Regions from separate parts of the Homo sapiens genome. Here region 1 is linked to region 2. Evidence: promoter capture Hi-C in human tissues and cell types (Jung and others, 2019). All regions are on one chromosome and are shown on one strand. Each heading gives the region's core, a stretch centred on a gene start or on the middle of the fragment in contact. The rest is flanking DNA. Distances are from core to core; before and after follow the strand shown. Region 1 overlaps TMEM181 (transmembrane protein 181). Region 2 holds the start of TULP4 (TUB like protein 4).

Region 1 (3,525 bases), core at 813-3,312, 320 kb before region 2:
ATGTACTGCATCGTCAGTGCCTTCGGACTGTCTATTTGACCTGCAGTCCAGCCTATGGCCTTTCTCCTTTTGTCTCTAGTTCATCCTCTAACCACCAGCCATGAATTCAGTGAACTCTTTTCTCATTCTCTTTGTTTTGTGGCACTTTCACAATGTAGAGGAAAAAACCAAATGACCGCACTGTGATGTGAATGGCACCGAAGTCAGATGAGTATCCCTGTAGGTCACCTGCAGCCTGCGTTGCCACTTGTCTTAACTCTGAATATTTCATTTCAAAGGTGCTAAAATCTGAAATCTGCTAGTGTGAAACTTGCTCTACTCTCTGAAATGATTCAAATACACTAATTTTCCATACTTTATACTTTTGTTAGAATAAATTATTCAAATCTAAAGTCTGTTGTGTTCTTCATAGTCTGCATAGTATCATAAACGATTTCTTCATAGTGAGTGGCTACAGAATCTATACAACCAGACCAGGCGCAGTGGCTCACACCTGTAATCCCACCACTTTGGGAGGCTGAGGCAGGCGGATCATGAGGTCAGGAGATCAAGACCATCCTGTCTAACACGGTGAAACCCCGTCTCTACTAAAAATACCAAAAATTAGCCAGGTGTGGTGGCGGGCGCCTGTAGTCCCAGCTACTCGGGAGGCTGAGGCAGGAGAGTGGCATGAACCCAGGAGGCAGAGGTTGTAGTGAGCCAAGATCGTGAGCCAAGTTCCCGCCACTGCACTCCAGCCTGGGTGACAAGAGCAAGAGTCCGCCTCAAAAAAAAAAAAAAAAAAAAAAAAAAAAAATATATATATATATATATACAACCAAAAAAAAAAAAGTTCTGCTGTGGTCCTCTCCATGATGTACTCATTTTACCCGTGGGACCAGGATCCTGACGGCTCTGCTGGGTTCTGGTTAGATTCCTACCCCTCGGCATCACACCTCCCATTCTTAAGCCCTCCTCTTCTAGAGGTGAAGGGGTGGGAGGTGGGCAAACCAATTTCTATTCTCTTAGCCAGAGAGCTCTAACTCACACTTGGCCCAAAGCTGTAACACCTTAACTGTTAATCCTGTGTTCTCTGTAGGGCTCACAAATTGTCTTAGTACTTCAGAGCTTACAAAATGGTTTTCACAATCATTCATTCTGTGTCTTCAACAATTTGCAGTCATTTAAAAATCTCAGAAAATGTGTTTGGAGGTTATCTGATTGGTTTAAAGTCACACATCCAAGTTGGGAGCTGGGCCCAAACCCACGCCTTGTCTCCATCTTGAGTGCTCTTCCCCAGGCCACATTAGACATGGCAATAAAGATACCTCCGTGCCTGCCTGCTGAAATGGAAAAGCCCTGCCGTTGTCTCCAAAGCCGCTTTATTAAAGCATTTATGTCTGCAAGGCCAAATTAACTCCACACACAAAGAGCAAACAAATCAAGACACATAGAAGTGAATATTAAAAATTTATTAACATTTCCCAGAAAGGTAGTGTCAGAATTAAGCCATTCGCAAAAGACGAATTTGCCATAAACAAACATTCACTTTTGCCTGATGACAGCAACACTGTGATGGGGTGGCACTGTGCCCCACGGACAGGTCCACAACTGAACACATGGCTCTATCTCTCCTTTTGGGCTTAAAGTTTAGTGTTATTTTATTTTACAAATATTTACAGTCATTTTGTAAAAAGGCAGTTTTTAGTAGCAGAAAATTCTTCTGTTTTATAGTATGGTATCACAGTTACTAGCGTATCTCCAATGTCAAACCAAGATAAACAGCATCACAAGATGTCACAGACTAATACAACTTCCCTTTGGCCAGGGGAAAAGATCTGTATCTTTTTTTTTTTTTCTTCAAAAGTCTAACCTCTAAGGCAACCGGTTTCTAAAACCCTCAAAATACACAAATACACTTTCATGTTTTAAGTCTCATCTTCACTAAATGTTCAGACACATCCGTTTTAATTATCCCTTTTATGAGGGTCTGTGTTTTTCCTGTGATAAAGGATTCAGGAAATAATTTACCACATTATAATCTATTTAACATAACTACCCTCAGTAAATAGTTCATAAAATACTTGAGGCTGGTGACATTTGTCTTGTAACCTGCTCATTTAGTGGGTTGGGTTTACAAAATGTATCTAAGCTTTTATTGCAATCTGCAATTATGTACATTAACAACCTTACAAACCTTGAACATAGTATATATATCCCCTTCTCTAGCCTTTCAAATGGGGCTTAAGAGAGAGAAAATGGCACCACTTCACTGCTATAATGATTTAATAATAAATCAAGCAGACTTATCATCCACATGGATAACGAAGCTCTCCCTAGGGAAACTGAAATACCTCTGGTCATCTTCCAGGTTCTCCTAGACTGGACCAGTATTTAAAAAATCCCAAAGATGATGTTACTCAAGCCATTACCATGAAGGAACTAAAGTCAGCCCTTTAAGTTCGCAAAACTTTAACATAACTACCCTCAGTAAATAATTTATTTTTTCTTCAACAATTTTCTTGCTACTGTCAAAAGTTTCTGGCAGACTTTAGTGTTTTAACCTGATACCTATGGTACATATTCTACATGCCAAGTGCTAGAGAGTTTAAGCAAAATTTTACATGGGGTATGTAATATGTCGGTATTTATGATATACCAGGGAAGACAAGTTGAAAATACATGACTTAGTAAGAACGATTTTCCCCTTAAGTACTTTCTAACTTTTTTTCTTATTTCCCACTTAGTTACAAAAAGTAAATAAATAATCCTATATTTTTCATTTCATTGATGCATGAAGACTCAATGTATGAAGATAATAGTCATCAGTTTATAATTACACTATAGGACAAAGTTTTAAAAAGTTCTAGTGTGTGTATGGCTAAATGCCTCAAATATTTTACATTTACTGATAAATAACAGCATTCCAAAATCATGGACAATTATGATTAAAAGTTGTAAACCATATCACAGAATATGTTAATCAGCACATCTTCATCAGTTTACATAAAGTTATAGTAGTCTTATTAGAAGTTGTAAAATTTGGTAACAGAAAATTTTTTTCAATACACAGAATAAAAAAAACATCATTGCAAATTTAAAAATCATGTAAACTTGAATTACCCTTGCAGTAAGTTGTCTTAAACATTCATATTTACAAGGTTTTTAAAACAAATGTGAATAGAATCCATATTAAAAGTACATTATCATTAAAGTTTAAATTAAAAGGAAAGATACAAAGGAAAGTCATAACAAATAGTTTCTCATGAACATCTCTAAGGTCCTACCTAGCACTACTTAACGTGGATGATAACGTGAAGCTCTGCATGGTAATCTGAGAGTCAATGCATAGATGAAGAAAAAAAGTAGGTACTGCTTGCGTTGCGGAACTATCATCTTCTGGACCTCAATTGCCAAGACGGCATCAGTCAGGTTGCCCACAGTTACCAGATGTTAACAGAAGTGTGACTGTAGAGGTCAAGAGGAAAGCACGGGAGACGTCCACATGAGACTCTATATGGAGTCCCTGACTGAAAGGAACGGGGA
Region 2 (3,526 bases), core at 331-2,830:
CAGGCCCATGTTCCACTGCTGCATACATACTTTCTTCAATGAACTGTTTTACTTAAAAAGTAATGTTAATGCTGTGAAATTTAAACCAATTTCTTTCATTGGTATATGTGTTTTTGTGGTTGGCTTGCGTTGCTTTTTTCCCCCTTTAATTAAGACTGACCTGAATCTAATTAGAAGGTCAGTATTTTATAAAGATCCACCGAATGCATAGTGAAAAAATTCCTCTATAAAAGATGATGGCAGTCTTCTAAGAAAAGGTAATGCTTAAAAAAACATGGGGTCCATTTGTATTTTCAAGTTCTCAGAGGAAGAACGTGCTGATCCTTTGGAGAAAGAGCATCGTTAATTAAGTGGTGATCAAGAAACGGTTTTCTTCTTTTTACTCCACTTGGTTATTCTCATTCAGCCTGAGATTCCAGTTTAGTGTAATATGATTCCAGAGACAAAGGGTTGCAAATACATAGATTTCAAGTAACTTAAGGCTTTAAGAATCCCTCTAGCTCGAATTTTTCTCTTCAAAAGTTCGGATGCAGAGACAGAATACACAGGATCATCTTCCTTCTGAAGCCACCCTCTAGCATGTTTCCTGAACTAGACAAATTTCTGCTGCTAAAGCTGAAAAAGATTGCATAAAGGGAAAAAAAGGCACACAAACCGTGCAAAACAGACCAGAGTTTGTGCAGACAAGAGTCCAAATTTTAGGAAGAAAAACAGACTCTCTCCTTGTTGTTTCAGAACCAGAAACTTTCCACCTCAAAGCTTGGCCCTGTGTCCCCGGGGAACGCAGGGCTCCATCGGACTGCTCCTCCACCAGCCGGCGCACCCCTCAGTGCCATAGAGGCTAGAAAGAAGGCCCCTTCACTCAAGAGGCAGAATGTTCCAGCGCTCTTACAGTGGTCCCAGTGTTTGCCCTGGGTGAGTCTTAAATCCTCTTGCTGACAAAACAGAGCCACGTGGCAAGATTTTGTTTCTTTTGCTCGTCTCCCTTCTCGCTCCCCCAGTTAGCACTCCCCTTTTCTGCTCCTAAAGATCTTTTTCCATCTTGATGAAAAAAGCTAATCTTAGAATTAAGTCCATCAGGTAATCTTCTCATACGCAAGTCTTCTTGGACTTGACAGGGAAGTTAATCCCTTAAAACAAAAGCAGAAGCCAGAGTCAGATTCCCCCAGCTGTCTCCCTAGAGAGTGATAGTGTTTTGCTGATGGGTGCTTTCCTGTTCACATTCAGAGACTGTCTCCAAACACCACACCACTAGTCCAACAAAAAGAAAGCTTTGCTTGGATTTTCCTTGATATTTATTTAATAATTATTGGTTTCAATTGCTATTTTACAATATTATCCTATAGATGCAGGAAAAAAGGGGGGGAATAATAAATTAAAATTTCTCAAATACAGTTAATTAAGATAGGCAAAGGAATCAGTTCATTATTCAAACTTGTCCCATCATACTTGAACTTGCTTTCCTCTAGCCATAACCACAGTAGGAGTTACTTTTCAGTCTAGAATTTTAATCCGTCCAAATCACCAAACCCACTGAAAAATAAAGTGCAACAAACACTGTGTGAGCCGCTGCAATGTTTGAAATCACACTTCTTTCTCAGTCACCTTCTCACTTAGTTCCTTCTTTAAACTGGAGAATATTTTTGTGGTTTAATCTGCGCAAATTTTTTTTTCTTCTTTTTGCAGACTTTCTTTACCCGTGCAGACCATATGGAAAACTGGCCATTAGTGATGTATTTTTCTCCCCGGGCTCCTGAGCCCACTGGTGTCAAGTTGCTCCATCTGATTCTTAAATTAATTTTCATCAGTTGTAAAACTCTCAAGTGTGCACAAGAATGAGCCTGTCTTCCCGTGTGAATGTGTAAGTACAGAAAGAAGGTTTTAAATGCACATAGACACACACTCTTCAACTGCCATACGAAGCGTCTGCTTCCCCAGTCATTTCAGGAACCATCAGATTATTCACGGCTGGGAGGCCCTGGAGTCTTACAAATCTGTTTAAAAAAAAAAAAAGATATAAAATTTAAAAACTTTAAAACACTGGAAAATAAAGGTTTTAAGAATAATTGCTGAAACTGAAATGAGAGACCCATCTTTACACTTACATCAAATGGAGCTACTGACTGCACTGAATGGTAAAATCCAATAGTGAAAGGATACACCTCACCAGACTCAAGACAACACACAACAAATGAGAGTTCTGCCTGCCACTGATCGTTGTATTCAATTTGTCAGCAGCTGGGCACATCTGAATGAAATCATAACTGCCATTCTTCCACACTGAACTGTACTTTCTAAGAGACTGAACTCCGAATGTGAGACTCTACCCCTCCAGAGACCATGGTCGCTGTTTAAGCAGGCATCCTCAAAAAGGAGACTGAAATGACTCAGGCAAGTTATCTGGATTGATTTTTTCACGATTAATAAAAGATATTCCCTCAAGACACAAAGCAGTAAGGGCCTTTAAAACTCATTCGTCCCTGATGGCTGGCAGGTCTCGGAGCAAAGCGCAGCTGTTTTCTAAGCTTTTATGTGGTCTACCAGCAATAAAGTTCTAGAGAATCTGTCTCTAGCAAATCCATTCCATCTTCTTCCTACTGCCTGAAGTCCAGGCTGCATCACATCCTCTACAAACACGAGAACACTCTGTCCCTAACTTACTCATCCTCCCTGCCCTCCCGCCCCGCCAGTCCTTCCAGAAAGCAGAGTGGACTTTCTCAAATTCAGCAGACTCTCTCAGTCTCCTGGGGCAGCTGAAGCGGCCCAGCCCCATCCCACAGGAACTGGACACTGAAAGGGAAGGGAAGGGCCCAGGTGTTCGCATTTCTAATAAGCTCCCAAGAGATGCTAATGCTGCTGGGCAGGGAACCAGGCTTTGAGAACTACTGGCCTGTAGCATCAAGTCCCAGCAAAAGACTCTACTTTCATCATAATACTAGGACATAATTTGCCTTCTTCCGTGTTCACATTTGTACCCATGGTGCAAAATCAACAGTGGGTCAAACTGCAAGCTCTTTAACACTAATCAAGGTAGAGGTACCAACTGCACCAGTAGTCATAGATTAAAAAAAAGAAAGAAAAAAAAAGCCAGCCTCACTTAAGAACATCTTTGATACGGCAGTAAAAATTATTAATTTTATTAAATATCAGCCCTTGAGTACATGGTTTTTAATACCCTTGTGTCCCAAAATAGTAGGTACACATAAAGTACTTCTGTGGACTACTGAAGCACCATGGTAGTCCCAGGAAAAAGCATGTATTATACAGTTTAAGTTGCAAAATGAACTGCTTGCTTTTTTCATGGAATACCATGTGACATGGTTTGAATGTTTGGCCCCTCCAAATCTCATGCTGAAACGTAACCCCCAGTGTTAGAGGTGGGGCCTGGTGGGAGGTGTTTGGATCATGGGGGCAGTCCCTCATGAATGTCTTGGTGCTGTCTTCTGACAGTGAGTGAACTCTCACGATACCTGGTTGTTTAAAAGAATGTAGCACCAGGAGTTCGAGACCAGCCTGGCCAACATGG

What was found. Contacts are between HindIII fragments. The study calls those that stand out against the background at their distance.
Region 1: a contact is called between a fragment that was not itself captured here and the fragment with the promoter of TULP4 in region 2, in 1 of the 25 tissues and cell types used here (mesendoderm cells).

Annotation. Positions count from the first base shown.
Region 1 is chr6:158,633,341-158,636,865 of GRCh38, reverse strand. TMEM181 (transmembrane protein 181) reads right to left here. Exons shown (of 17, transcript NM_001376852.1): 17 at 1,437-3,525. DYNLT1 (dynein light chain Tctex-type 1) reads left to right here. Exons shown (of 5, transcript NM_006519.4): 5 at 1-392. The coding sequence ends at 39. Among named protein-coding and RNA genes, the nearest start is that of DYNLT1, 9.6 kb to the left of the region's middle. The HindIII fragment of the contact is 3,978 bases long and covers 74-3,525 here.
Region 2 is chr6:158,310,519-158,314,044 of GRCh38, reverse strand. TULP4 (TUB like protein 4) reads right to left here and starts at 1,580. Exons shown (of 14, transcript NM_020245.5): 1 at 1-1,580. The coding sequence starts at 28. The HindIII fragment of the contact is 2,154 bases long and covers 1,016-3,169 here.